Linked DNA regions of Homo sapiens: region 2 is linked to region 1. The links are contacts of gene promoters, found by promoter capture Hi-C in human tissues and cell types (Jung and others, 2019). All regions are on one chromosome and are shown on one strand. The core of a region is centred on a gene start or on the middle of the fragment in contact, and the rest is flanking DNA. Distances in the headings are between cores, read along the strand shown.

Region 1 (7,735 bases), core at 2,799-5,298:
TCAGATGCCTTGGGTTTGAATCCCTGTACATTTACTTAAAAGTTATGAGAATTTTCACATCTTTGAATCTCAGTTTTTAAATTTGTAGAAGCAGGGAGTGGTGGCTCACACTTGTAATTCCAGCACTTTGGGAGGCCGAGGTGGGCAGATTATACTTGAGCCCAGGAGTTTGAGACCAGCCTGGATTACATGGTGAGACCCTTGTCTCTACAAGAAAATACAAAAGTTAGCCGGGCATGGTGGTGCGAACCTGTAGTCCTAACTACTCAGGAGGCTGAAGTGGGAGAATAACCTGAGCCTGGGGAAGTCGAGGCTGCACTGAACCGTGATTGAGCCACTGCACTCCAGCCTGAGATCCTGTCTCAAAAATAAATAAATAGGCCAGGCACGGTGGCTCATGCCTGTAATCCCAGCACTGTGGGAGGCCGAGGCTGGTGGATCACTTGAGGTCAGGAGTTTGGGACCAGCCTGGCCAATATGGTGAAACCCTACTTCTTCTAAAAATACGAAAAAATCAGCTGGGCGTGGTGGTGCACACGATAATCCCAGCTACTCGGGAGGCTGAGGTGGGAGAATCGCTAGAACCCAGGAGGTGGAGGTTGCAGTGAGCTGAGATCGTGCCACTGCACTCCAGCCTGGGAGACAATGAGACTCTGTCTCAAAACAACAACAATCATATATATATATATAAAATATATATTATATAATATATAACATATATATTACATATAATGTATATATTATATGTAATATATTACATATATTACGTAATATATGTTATATATTATATGTAATATATAACATATATTACGTAATATATGTAATATATTATGTAATATATATTATATATAATATATATTATATATAATATATAATATATATTATATAATATATTACATAATATATTACATATATTATATATTATATAATATACAATATATATTATATATATTATATATTATATAATATACAATATATATTATATATATTATATATTATATAATATACAATATATATTATATATATTATATATTATATAATATACAATATATATTATATATATTATATATATTATATATTATATCTGCTGCTTGATATATATAATATATAATATATATTATATATAATATATTAAATATATAATTAATTAATTAATTAATAAATTATATAATATATATATATATGCAAGTGAGGTCTAGACTTGAGCAAGGCCATTCTTTGGGCTGAAAGAACAGAGCTCTACCTTTTTGACTTTGTTCCCTACAAACTTCCTCCATTGATTGCCTGTGGCCAGAATCTTATCAGGGACTTTTACATTATTTTGCCCAAGGTCTATCCATTTTAAAACAGATAAGTTTCATAAAGTGCTTAGCTAAGACTGGCACACAGTAATTGTCTGATGCTTGTAGCTATTATTAAGTTAGAAAATGAAGCTAGCTCAGAAAAGAATAACAATTAGGCAATTATCGGCCTGTTATCACCCTAGTGTAAATGAGAAGTCAAATAATTTCCTTGGAACAGGTTTTGATTGGGATAAGGATGCCTGAGATTCCAGAAAATGAAAGGAGAATCTGGGGAACTGAAGGACCACTAGGGAATTCTTCCTGGAGTCAATTATATGTGGAGAGGAGCAGAAAATCCCATCCTAAATAATCAGGTGTTACAGGCCGGGCATGGTGGCTCACGCCTGTAATCCCAGCACTTTGGGAGGCCAAGGCGGGCGGATCACGAGGTCAGGAGATCGAGGCCATCCTGGCCAACACAGTGAAACCCCATCTCTACCAAAAATACAAAAAGAGAAAAAAAATCAGCCGGGCACGGTGGCAGGTGCCTGTAGTCCCAGCTACTTGGGAGACTGAGGCAGGAGAATGGCGTGAACCCAGGAGGCAGAACTTGCAGCGAGCCAAGATTGCGCCACTGCACTCCAGCCTGGGCGACAGAACGAGACTGTCTCAAAAAAAAAAATAAATAAATAAAAAAATCAGGTGTTACAAATCCAGACAGTTTAAGATGCCACAGTATGAAGTAGCTGCTGTCTTCCAGTCTGGAGATGGGGATGAGGCATCCTTTTCAATGTCAGAAACTGTGGAGCTCTAGCTAGAAAGACGCCGTAGGGGGGTTGTGGTATCACTCTCTTTCAGATGCTCTTTTATCCTAGAAGGAGCATTTGGGGCTCCCAGGGATTGTCACGAATTAAGCATCCACTATGTGTAGAGCTTTATATGAATTAAAAACAACAATAGGCCAGGCGCGGTGGCTCACGCCTGTAATCCCAGCACTTTGGGAGGCCGAGGCAGGCAGATCACCTGAGGTTGGGAGTTTGAGACCAGACTGACCAACATGGAGAATCACCGTCTCTACTAAAAGTACAAAATTAGCCAGGCGTGGTAGCGCATGCCTCTAATCCCAGCTACTCGGGAGGCTGAGGCAAGAGAATCGCTTGAACATGGGAGGCGGAGGTTTCCGTGAGCCGAGATCGTGCCATTGCACTCCAGCCTGGGCAACAAGAGCGAAACTCCGTCTCAAAAAACAGCAACAACAAAATAGTAAGGCAGTGTGTGAAGCAGGATAGCAGGAGTCAGAACTAGACTCTAATCTTAGCTCTGCCAGCCACACTGTCGGTGCGACCTCGGGGAAGTCTTTTGTGCGTTTTGAGCCTCAATTTTCTCAGCTTTTCTGTGGTTTGATGGTATTGAGCCTCCCCAGTCTCAGTTTATTCATTTGTAAAATGGATACTACCTATTTCACAGGACTGCTTGAGATAATGAAGGGTACAGCGCTTAGTGCCATGTCTGGTAAATATTATATTAAAACTTGATTGCTCCATGACGCCTGCCATTTTTTTTTTTTTTTTGAGACGAAGCCTCACTCTGTCGCGCCCAGGCTAGTGTGCAATGGCACTCTCTCAGCTCACTGCAACCTCCGCCTCCTGGGTTCAAGTGATTCTCCCGCCTCAGCCTCCCGAGTAGCTGGTGCCTGCCACCACGCCTGGCTAATTTTTGTATTTTTAGTAGAGACGAGGTTTCATCATGTTGGCAAGGCTGGTCTTGAACTCCTGACCTCAAGTGATCCACCGGCCTTGGCCTCCCAAAGTGCTGGGATTACAGGCGTGAGCCACCGCGCCCGGCCGATGCCTGCCATTCTTTCCCACTCAATGCCACTGTGCTTAGGACAAGGCACCTGCTAAGGAGTGGGGTGTGCGGGGTTGGGGGTGGGAGTGATCTTGGCAGGTCTAGCTGGGAAGAAAATCCTTATCAACAAATGTCACCCAGCATAGGACATTGGGGAGCTGATCACTGGCTGCTGGTCAAAGGGCGCTCCAGTCCTGGGGAAGGCCTAGGTTTGAATCCATCCACAGAGCTCAGTTAAGGCTGCTGATTAGATATGGCGGCTCAGGTCATGTCCCCAGCCAATATGGGAGGCGGCAAGGTTCATCCAGATGAAGGTGGCATTTAGATTTAGGCTCTGTCCTTTCCCGATAGGGTGACCTTGGGCTAGTCACTTTTCCTCTGTGTCCTCTGGAAATGGGGCTCCTCATTCACCTCTCAGAGCGTCTGAGGAAGTGTCGACACAATGGGTGTGAAATGCGTGGGTTACAGGCCGGCGGGTGGCATTGGTTACGCGAAGTCCCCGCGGGGGGTCCCTATCCAACGGGTTCCATTCCGGTTAAGCGGTTCCTTCTCCAGGGGTTTTTCGCCTCGCCGCTGCCTCTCCGCCCCTGCGAGCGGGGCTCAGCGAACAGCCGACTCCGGGGCCATTACCATTGTTCTTCGAGGCTGGGCCGCAGGGGAGGACTCTCGCAAGCCAGACCTCGCCTTTGGTCTTTCCCTCCGCCCCGCACCCGCGCCGCTGTAAGCCAGCGAAGCCTCCCTCGCCGATCTTTGCCGAGGAAGCGAGTTAGCCCCTGAGCCCTCCCGAACGGCGGCCGAGGACGCACCCGAGCGTCTCCGAAGAATCCCGACCCCTAGCAGTCTCCGGAAAGAGCCGAAGAGGCTTCCCACCCTCGGTTTCCCGAGCCATTCCGAAAAAGTCCGAAGTTTTCCGAGCAGCCGTCCTGCCGGACTGCTGGAGGCGGCCACAGCGCCATGTTGGATGCTCTGCTCGTTGAGTGAAGAAAATCCACCGGCATCGCCTGAGCCCCGCTACCGAGAAGGGCGCCGCTTCCTCCGGGGAGGGGGATAAAGATCCCCCGCCGCCGGCCCATGAGGATATTGCCGTGAAAGGTCCGGTCTCTCCGCCTCCTGCCCCCGCCGGGTCCGGCCCCCCCCCTGGGGTCGCGTTGTCACGGAGACCGGCAGCCGGTGGTGCTGGCCCGCGGGGCGGCTGCTGCTGCCGGCGGCGGCGGCGGCGGAGGCGGCGGCGGCGGCGGCGGCGGCGTCGGGCGTGTGTGACCGGCCCCGGCCCCCTCCTCCTCCTCCCCCCAGGCTCCCCCCAGCCCCCCGCTCCCGCCGCCTCCCCGGGTCTGCCCCCATCCCGCCCCCCCGCTGCCCCCGGCCCCTGCACCCCGGCGCGCCCGGTCCCGCTCTGGGGGGGTTGGTGGCTTCGCTTTGCCATGAGTTTACCGCAGAAACCGGCTCTGAAATCAGGCACAGCGACTGCAGCAGGAACCGGACCCGGCACCGGAGCGGCGGCGGCGGCGGCAGCAGCGGTACCGCCTCCTCACCCGGCGGCGGCAGCAGCGGCGGCGGCGGCGGCGGCGGCGGCGGCGGCGGCAGCGGTCCCCCCTCCTCACCCGAACATCAGGGCCCTCCAGACTCAGGCGCCCCAACAGTATCCTTTTCACCTTCCTGTCGGCCCTTCGGTTCTCGTCGTCGCAGTCCAGGGGGACCCCGCAGCCCAGGGGACCCTCCTGCCGGCCGCCACAGCCCAGCCAGGAAAGGGACAGCGGCTCAAGCCCCTGCATCGGGCTTGGGCGGAGCTTTTGGGGTGCCCCGGCAGCAGCACTGCGGGGGGACCCCCAGACCCTCTGCAATACTGTGAAAGCTAGCCCCACTTGGCCATGCTTCTGCAGCCCCTTCCTTTTAGAGCTTGGGGTCCCTTCTCCCCTCCTCCCCTAAGGTACCCTCCCCCCCTTTATTGGGCAGAATTTGCTTGGTGCCTGGGACCAACCCTGCAGGGAAGGCTTTTCTCTGGTTGTTGTGAGGATTACACCCTCCTGCTCTTCACCTCCCCTCGGCTCCCCCTACAGCGGGACACAGTGGGCTTCCATAATTATTATTAGTACATAATAAACTTTATCGGTAAATTTCTTGTTTGAAACCAATCAGCTCGTTTCCGAGGTATGTTGGATTTTCAGTCTAAGGTGAAAATGTACAGAAAGCAGTTCCTCTGGATAATTTTTTTTAGTAATGGGAGAGTTGTGATGTGGTTTGTGGTAGAGATCTGAGGAGGAAATGTGACGCCGGACGCTTCCCTGTCTTTGACCTTTTTAAAGGAAGAGGAAGTTCACCGACATTACCCATCACCCACAAAAGTCTCACTTCTTGGAAGATTTGTGTTAGGCTGAATATTTTTAATGGGCTTTAATTTACTCCTCATAGGCCTGATGTCTAGAGAGTTACCAGGGCTTCTGGAGGAAAGTCTAGTATTGAATGTTTCTAATTTCATGTTATTTGCTCGATTGTAGAATTTTGGAGAGCTTTGATTGAAAAGACTTGGTGATGGGGTATTTTAGTCAAAAACTAGCCGGTGAAGGTAAAACGTTGAATTCATGTATTCCACGGAGATTTAGAAAGGTATTGCGTACCTGAGAATAACATTTCATCATGCATCACCTCCTCCCTACACCCACTGTATTTGTGTAAATCAATAAATAATGATTGGATGTTAGATGTGTTGTGTTTTTATGTTTGTGTCATCGTGCGTTTGACTTTTAGAGATTGTAGGATGTTTGAGCAAGTAAGAAGCTAACTGCTGTGAGGTCCCCAGATTATTTCACAGTCTGTAGTTTGATTCTTGTCTGTATAGATTACTTTGAGAAGGGAAAGCAATCTCCCTTCTAGAGTCATTTCAGGTCATTGTTTGTTTTCTGCCAAGTGTCATTTTCTCTGTTCTTTAAACCTAGTTCGTGATTTTCAATCCAGGCACCGCGGTGCAGTGTAAAGATAAATTCCATTCCAGTGTGACGTGTGTACTGATTTCATAATGTTTTTATCCTGCATGATTCTGTTCAATTAGGAATTGTTCACCGATGAGAAAGTGTGGTGATAACTTAGCGTTGCTTATGGAAAACCTGGTTGGTTTTGTTCAGTGTCTCTGGGGTGGGGGAAGATTGGCTGGTTTGCCTACTTAAAGGCAGAGTTCAGTGTTGAATCTTTTAAACCTGTCTTTGCTTACTACTTTGTGAGTTTAAATTCCTTTCTAATTTCATTTTTTACCTTGATTGCCTATACTCGGTTAGGACTTTTAAGTTTCTGAATTGTGCTACCACGTAAATTACTCATTACCTGCATCTTTGAGCTGTTTTGGCAATTGAACAGAAATAAAAGGAAACCTGTAGTAGGTGTCCTTGATGTACAGAGTAGTAAGGACCACAGTGCTGAATGTGACACTGTTTGGTGAATTGGGTGGCTTTTTGGGATACAGCTGTGTTTCAAGTATGCTTTTTCTCAGTGCATTTCATAGAAGGACTTATAAAAGCTCTGAGTTGGTTGCAACATTCAAGTAGTTACAAAAGCTGAAACTTAATTTTCTTTTGAATAAAAAGCACTTGTTAAAGAGATAAATTTAAGTGTAAGTTCCAGTGTAGATAATTTTAAACCAATTTTAGTCATATGGAACACTTACTTTTGTGTGGCTTTAAGTTTTTACTTTGCCTCATGCCATTGAAGCTAAAATTAATCTTCCTCTTGATGTGTTTCACAGCTCTTATTGTTTTCTCTTTGCTTTTACACACTGAAAGGTTACAATTGCTAAAATAGAAAATTTTATTATATAAACAGTAAAGGAAGTATAGGTTGTAGATTTCATCAGACATACCAGTGGTGAAGTGTTATCAACTGGTAATGGGGTATTGATTAAAAAAGGATTGAAATAGAGCAGTTCTACTTTTCTACCCTGAGGGAGTATGGGAATTTGTATTTGACGCAAGTGGTCATTGTTCAATAAGTGGATAACATTTAAGCATCTTGGCAGGAGTGCATAGCTGGAGTTAGCACTGTTCATGGCTTGAATAGATCTCCAGACCCTCAAAGTATGTGGGTATAGTTGTGTTTGCATTGAATTAATAAGTTCAGACAGTTTTATTTATTTATTTTTGAGACAGAGTCTTGCTTTGTCGCCCAGGCTGGAGTGCAGTGGTGTAATCTCGGCTCACTGCAACCTACGCCGGCTGGATTCCAGCCATTCTCATGCCTCAGCCTCCTGAGTAGCTGGGATTACAGGCGTGTGCCACCAGGTCCAGGTAATTTTTTGTAAGGCGTGATCAGACTGGGTTTCACCATGTTGACCAGGCTGGTCTCGAACTCCTGGCTTCAGGTGATCCGCCTGCCTCAGCCTCCCAAAGTGCTGGGATTACAGGCATTGAGCCACCGCACCTGGCCCTGATCTGGTGAAACCTGGTCTCTACTAAAAGTACAAAAATTAGCCGGGCGTGGTGGCGCCTGCCTGTAATTTCAGCTACTCAGGAGGCCAAGGCAGGAGAATCGCTTGAACCCACGAGGCAGAAGTTGCAATGAGCCGAGACTGCACCACTGCGCTCCAGCCTGGGTTACAGAGTGAGACTCCACCTCAAAAA
Region 2 (7,735 bases), core at 2,489-4,988, 33 kb after region 1:
TCGAGACCAGCCTGGCCAACATAGGGAGACCCTGTCTCTACTAAAAATTAGCCAGGCGTGGTGGCAGGAACCTGTAATCCCAGCTACTTAGGAGGCTGAGGCAGGAGAATCGCTTGAACCCGGGAGGTGGAGGTTGCAGTGAGCCGAGATCACGCGATTGCACTCCAGCCCAGGCGACAGTGTGAGACTCTGTCTCAGAAGAAAAAAAACAAACAAAAAACAAACAAACTTAGCAAAACAGTGCATGTGTTTTATAAATAATACAAATTATATAGATTTATTTATTTATTTATTGAGATGGAGTCTTGCTCTGTCTCCAGGCTGGAGTGCAGTGGCACGATCTTGGCTCACTGCAACCTCCGCCTCCCGGGTTCAAGAGATTCTTCTGCCTCAGCCTCCTGAGTAGCTGGGATTACAGGTGTCTGCCACCATGCCTGGCTAGTTTTTTGTATTTTTAGTAGAAATGGGGTTTCAGTATGTTGGCCAGGCTGGTCTTGAACTCCTGACCTCGTGATCTGCCCGCCTCAGCCTCCCAAAGTGCTGGGGTTATAAGCGGGAGCCACTGACCCGCCCAAATCCTGAAATTTCTGAAACAACTATATCTTTAGGTAACTTACTAGCTTTTGAAGAGTTCAGGTTTGCCTTTTATTACAATTATTGCATTGATACTAGTAGTATTTTATAGACTTTCTTGTGTGAAATGAAAAGCTCCTTGTGACTATTAATTTTTCTTATTCCAGTTATTGAATTGCTATTGTCACCATATAATATGTAATTTTATTTATTTATTTATTTTTGAGATGGAGTTTTGCTCTTGTTGTCCAGGCGGGAGTGCAATGGCATGATCTTGGCTCACTGCAACCTCCACCTCCTGGGTTCAAGTGGTTCTCCTTCCTCAGCTTCCCTAGTAGCTGGGATTACAGGTGGCCACCACCATGCCCGGTTAATTTTTTTGTATTTTTTAGTAGAGACTGGCCATGTTGCTAGGCTGGTCTTGAACTCCTGACCTCAGCTGATTCACCTGCTTTGGCCTCCCAAAGTGCTGGGATTACAGGTGTGAGCCACCCCGCCCAGCCAATTTTAATATTTTTTAAATATAAAATTGCCTTTCTGATTTGTATGTCATTAGTTATTGAAATTAACTGTTAATAGCCATATGTTTGCCCTTCATTTACTGTACTTTAAAGTTTTTGAGACAGGGTCTTGCTGTATTGCCCAGGCAGGAATTCAGTGGTGTAGCCATGGCTCACCTCAGCTTTCAGCTTCAACCTCATGGGCTCAAGCGATTTTCCTGCCTCAGCCTCCCAATTAGCTAGGACTACAGGTGCACACCCCTATGCCTGGCTAATTAAAAACATTTTTTTGTAGAGACTGGGTCTCACTATGTTGCTCAGACTGGTCTGCGATTCCTGGGCTCAAGTAATCCTCCAACCTCTACTCCTCAATTTTTTTTAGTTTTGGAGACAGGGTCTTGCTGTGTTTCCCAGGCTGGAGTGTAGTGGCACAATCTTGGCTCACTACAGCCTCGAACTCCTGGGCTGAGTTGATCCTCCTGCCTCAGCTTTTTGTGTAGCTAGGACTACAGTCCTGTGCCCACCACAATCAGCTAATTAAAAAAAAAATTTAAAAATGTTTTTTGTAGAGATGAGGTCTTGCTGTGTTGCCCAGGCTGGTCTCAAACATTTGGCCTCAATGATCCTCCTGTGGTGGCCTCCCAAAGCACTGGGATTGCAGATATGAGCCACTACACCCAGCCCATTTACTGTAATTTTTAGCCTTTGAGAATTTTGTGATATTGGCTAGATTTTGCCATAGAGATTTGTAAGTAACCAAATTTTATTCCTAACATTGACTACTAGATAACTGAATGGTTTTGGTGAGACTTTACCATTCACACTTGAATATTTATGTTTTCTTTAAGGGAAATCACAATGTATATAAGTTTTTAATTTTGTTTCAAATGAATTCCATTTGATAAAACACGTAGCATAGCTAGGTGGGGTGACTCAAACCAGTAATCCCACTGAGTCAGGGGCCTGAGTGGGAGTATCCTTTGAGGCTACGTGTTTGAGACCAGCCTGGGAAACATAGTGAGAACCTGTCTCTTAAAAAAAAAAAAGGCATAAAATAAACTGGACACTTTTAAGAGGTATGTTGGTCCGGATCATTGGTTTTAGAAGATAGAGCAAAACTTGAGAGTTAAACCCTAGGGTTTTTTTTGTTTGTTTGTTTTGTTTTGTTTTTTAGCTCTGATTCTACTAGAAGTAGTCATGTCATCTTTGGCAATTCTCTTAATGTAACATTTTGGAACTTGGTTTCCTTGTCTATATGAGAGAGTTGATGATACCTTACAAGTTGTACTGAGGATTACATGAGCCCTCCATGCAAAATACTAAATACACTGATACAGATATGGTTGGTACTCAAGAAATAATGGCATAATTTTTTTTTTCTTGCTATGTTGCCCAGGCTGGTCTCTTAACTCCTGGCCTCAAGCAGTCCTCCCACCTTGGCTTCCCAAAGTGCTAGAATTACAGGCATGAGCCACCATGCCTGGCCAAGAAACAATGCTGTTATTACTCTAGCTAGCAGAAAACAAAAATCATTTTCTGGAGAATTAGACTATTTAACAAGGCACATGCTTATCAGTACGTGCGTTACCTCTTCTAGTGTTCTGCTGTGTTGATATTAGTGACCAAGATCTGCATAGTTTGAGAACCCTCTATTTCAAGGATTAGGAGGTAGAAAGCTTATGAGAAAGAAATCTGGCCTGGTAAAATGCACCTTCGTGGGCTTTTTGAAAGATGGGACTCATTCTTTGTCTTTCAGTGGTTTATTATAATCTATTAAAATTTACTTTATGACCTGAGACAAAGCCATTTTACTATTTAGGCTCAGTTTAACATTGTTAAACCTGTCTACTATTCAGAGTGTACCAAGGTGCTTTTATTTCTTAAGAGTTCTGTTGTATTTCATCCATAAAAATGATTGAAGCAGGGTCAGGAACCAGTGGCTCATGCCTGTAAGTCTAGCACTTTGGGAGGCCAAGGTGGAAGGATTGCTTGAGGCCAGGAGTTTGAGACCAGCCTAGGCAACACAGCGAGACCCCATCTCTACGAAAAAAAAAAAAAAGATGGGTGTGCTGCTGTAGTGTTAGTTTATAGTCCTAGCTGCTCAAAGAGCTGAGGTGGGAGGCTCCCTCAAGGGGATCCCTCAAGATTGAGGCTAGAATGAGTTATGATTGTGCCAGCGCACTTTAGCCTGCACAACAGTGAGACTCTGTCTCCAAAATAAATAAATAAATAGATTGAAGCAGATAACTGATAACTGTTATTGTTATGGGAGGGATGTTATCTCCCAAAGATTACCCATAGATACTTGGAATTAATTTTTGGAGCTCTATTTGGACTATCAGAGCTCTCTTAAAACATGACATTGCTTGCACCAAAAAAATAGAAGCCAAGGGGGCAAAAAACATGAAATTGCTTCATTTAGTTATTTGCTTTCTTAAAAAATATTTTGGGTCTGGCATAGTGTCTCATGCCTATGAACCTTGAGACCAGGAGTTGGAAACCAGCCAGGGCAACTTAGGGAGACCTCATTTCTTTTATAAATAAGTTTTTTCTTTTTTTGGAGACAGAGTCATGCTCTGTCACCCAGGCTGGAGTGCGGTGGCATGATCTTGACTTATGGCAGCCTCCACCTCCTGGGTTCAAGTGATTCTGGTGCCTCAGCCTCCTGCGTAGCTGGGACTACAGGCACATGCCACCACACCCAGGTAATTTAAAAAATATTTTTAGTAGAGATGGGGTTTTGCCATGTTGGCCAGCCTGGTCCCAAACTCCTGGCCTCAAGTGATTTGCCCACCTCGGCCTCCCAAAGTGTATAAATAAAAATTTTTGAAAAATATTTTGTATGTTTAATAATTTGTTCATTATAATGAAATTTATTTTGTGCTACAGAAGAAATAAATGTATCTTACTGTACATTATAGACATAACGTTAGTAAATGGAATTCCCTGTAGTTGCACACCTCCTTGGTTAACTGTTTGAAGTCTTTCTCCAGACTTTCTATGCCCATTACAGCATTTTAAATTTTAACTAAAATGTTGTATACTGTTTTATAGTATTCTTTCTTAGTTATCCTTTTATAGTTTTCTTTCTTTTCCTTTTCCCCTTTCCTTTCCTTTCCTTCTCTTTCTCCTTCTTCTCCTTCTTCCTTTCCTTTGCTCTCCTTTCTCTTTCTTTCTTTGTCTCTCTTTCTCTCTCCCCTCCCCTCCTCTCCTTTATTTTTTTCCTTTCTTTCTTGACGAATTCTCACTTTGTCGCCCAGGCTTGAGTACAGTGGCGCAATATCGGCTCACTGCAACCTCTGCCTCCCAGGTTCAAGTTATTCTCCAGCCTCAACCTCCCTAGTAGCTGGGATTACAGGCACCCACCACCACACCTAGCTAATTTTTGTATTTTTAGTAGAGACAGGGTTTCATCATGTTGGTCAGGCTGGTCTTGAACTCCTAACCTCAAGTGATCTGCCTGTCTCGGCCTCCCAGAGTGCTGGGATTACAGGCATGAGCCACCACATTTGGCCTATTTTTTCTTTTTAATGTAATTTCTTTAGTAACAGTTTTATGTTTCAGTAATAGATATCTATTTCCATTTTTTGGAAATGACTAGAATTACTTATGGATGCTGCTTAATTTATTTTTATGCAATTCTTTCTAATCTACTTGAGTTATTTCTGTTTTTCTTATATTATGAACCATGCTGCACTCAACATTTTTATACAGCTTCTTTTACTTGAATGGATATTTTTGGGGATAAATTATAGAAGCAGATCAAAATGTATGAAGGGAAGTATGTCAGAGTATGAAGTGGGTAAAAAGGTTGTGGAAATTAAGTGTTAGCTATTATGAGTTTTAAATGGTTTGGTTCCTGATTCCATTTAGATCTTTATTGTTTTTCTTCATTTTTGTTTGTATTTACTTTGTATTATTTTGCTTTGTTGCATGTATTCTAGTTAGCCACTTAAAAAAAATTTAATTTTTGGGGAGCTAGGGTCTCACTCTGTCACTTAGGCTGGAGTACGGTTGTACGATCTCAACTCACTGCAACTTCCACCATCCAGGCTCAAGCGATCCTCCTACCTCAGCCTCCTGAGTAGCTGGGACTGCAGGCACATGGTGCACCACACTGGCTAATTTTTGTATTTTTTTTTTTTGTAGAGTGGGGGTTTCATCATGTTGCCCAGGCTGGTCTCAAACTCCTGGGCTCAAGCAGTCCACCCACCGCAACCTCCCAAAATGCTGGGATTACAGGCATGAGCCATTATGCCTGACCATTAGCCACTTTTAGATTCCTAATACATGTTTTTTCCCTGAGGTGAGGTCTAACTGTGTTGCCTAGGCTGGCCTTAAATGCCTGGACTCAAGTGATCCTCCCACCTCAGCCTCCTGAGTAGCTTTATGTTTCAGTAATACATATCTATCTCCATTTTTTTGGAAATGACTGAGATTATAGGCACATGCCAGTGTGCCACGCTAAATTCTCTTTATAACAAAATTAGGGAAATATTATCTTGAATCTTTGGGTGGTACTGATTAGCATTTTGTTTTTTTTTTTGGAGACAGGGTCTTGCTCTGTTGCACAGGTTGGATGGAGCGTGGTGGCATAATCACAGCTCACTGCAGCGTCGATTTCCCAGGCTCAAGCGATTCTTCCCCTTCAACCTCTCTAGTAGCTGGGACTACAGGCCCACACTACCACGGCTGACTAAGTTATAAAAATTTTTGGTAGAGTCAGGGTCTCACTATGTTGTCCAGGCTAGTCTTGAACTCCTAGGTTCAAACGATCTTCCTGTCTTGGCTTCCCAAAGTGTTGGGATAACAGGCATGAGCCACTGTTTCTGGCCTAATTAGAAAATTTTAAAAACATTTTTCTATTCCCTGCACCATTTCTCTCCTACAGGGTTGGATCTGTTTTTTGTCTTGTTTCTTCACTTTCTTAATGTAAAATAGAAAACATACTGTAGTGTTGTAATTACTAAGTAAGCAGGATCTTGTTTTTTTTTTTTTTTTCTCTTGGTAGGAAAAAAATACAAAAGTTCTTTTGAAATAAAAATCTTTCTCACACTTTTTTTTTTTACATAGAACTACACATACACACACACACACACACACAAAGAAAAAATATTTTTCTCAAATAGAAATGGTAATGTTCAATTCAAACACACATGCTATCCCACAGCATTTCTTCTTCATTCAGTGTGTTGTAGATTCTTCTGTAACATGGCACAGAAAGAGAAACAGTTTGGTGAGTGGTTAAGAGCCCCAGTTGGAGTTGGTTGACACCTCTTCGTTTATGTAGTATGACCTTGGGCAGACTGCATTGCTGCTGTGCACTGGGGTTTTCTATTTTGAAATATGGGAATTATAATTGTTCCTAGGATTTTTTTGAGGGTTAACATTAACTTGTGAAGTTCTTAGAACAGTTGGTTCAAGATATTTAGCTGAATAAATATAAACTGTAATGTAATGATTATAATATAATTTTCTCATTTAAAAAATATATATGTTACGGATTTATCACATTCATTAAGTCATTCTCAAATTGATGTGCAGAAAACTTTATTTTAGAACACGTTATTTTTCCCTTAGATGTTTTCAAAGTGATGGTTTTTATTTTAGTAACTGGTAACAAGTCTTATTTTGCTCTTAGTTCCTTCAGTGAAGAACGTAATTGAAGCTTCAAAGTGTTTATAAAATAGGGAAGTAATTAACTGCTTTTCATTCCTAACCCTGGATATGTCTGCTTTTCTCAGGTTCTATTTTGTATAGTTTTTACAATATAGTCTTGTTTTCAAATAGTAGTCTTCACATCAGCCATTGCTGAAAACTGCTTACTTTAATTTTATCTTTTTATAACCTGCTGCATAAATAATTTTGCCAAGGCCAGGTGTGGTGGCTCACGCCTATAATCCCAGCACTTTGGGAGGCCAAGGCAGGCGGATCAAATGAGGCCAGTTCAAGACCAGTCTGGGCATATGGTGAAACCCCATCTCTAATAAAAATACAGAAATTAGCCATGCATGGTGGTGCATTCCTGTAGTCCCAGCTATTTAGGGGGCTGAGGCGGGAGGCCCACTTGAACCCAGGAGGCTGAGGTTGCTGTGAGCTGAGATCACGCTACTGCACTCCAGCCTGGGCAGTAGAGCAAGACTCTGTCTCAAAAAAGAAAAAAAAAATTTGCCCATGCTACTGGGACCTTCAATTTTAGTGAAAGGAAGAACATTTTATTGTTCCTATTCTGTTTTTTCTGTAGGTTATTGCCTTCTTTGCAATTGGAAAATCAGTTTCATGATGATTTTGTTATTGTGTTGGTTATCCACAAATGTCTAGAGAATACTGTATTTTCCTGAGAAAGACACATTATGACATACTGTTACAGAGAGAAGACAGCCTCAACCAAATCTGGAGAAGGTTTTTAAGAATGTGGGAAATGCTTGCTAACTTTTTAAATCACTGAGCAAAGTTAGTTAATATTTTCATTAGACTTGGGTGACCCAAGTAAGGAATCCTTTACATTTTTTTCTAATGGAAGAAAATACTGTCTTAATCAGGATAATTCTAGGGATGGGGTAAGGCTAGGATAGTTGTACTCAGTGCTAGCTGTTGGAATCAGTTTTGTAGTTTAAATTATATAGACCAGTGTGGGCCTGTAGTCCTAGCTACTCGGGAGG

The links. The method cuts DNA at HindIII sites, captures the fragments that hold promoters and counts their contacts. A contact is called where the count stands out against the background at its distance.
Region 2: a contact is called between a fragment that was not itself captured here and the fragment with the promoter of EIF4G3 in region 1, in 1 of the 25 tissues and cell types used here (stomach).

Annotation. Positions count from the first base shown.
Region 1 is chr1:21,173,210-21,180,944 of GRCh38, reverse strand. EIF4G3 (eukaryotic translation initiation factor 4 gamma 3) reads left to right here and starts at 4,048. Exons shown (of 37, transcript NM_001391906.1): 1 at 4,048-4,223; 2 at 4,587-4,770. RefSeq lists an enhancer at 4,084-4,133. The HindIII fragment of the contact is 22,917 bases long and covers 1-7,735 here.
Region 2 is chr1:21,139,820-21,147,554 of GRCh38, reverse strand. All of the region lies in intron 2 of EIF4G3 (eukaryotic translation initiation factor 4 gamma 3), which reads left to right. Among named protein-coding and RNA genes, the nearest start is that of EIF4G3, 33 kb to the left of the region's middle. The HindIII fragment of the contact is 7,294 bases long and covers 92-7,385 here.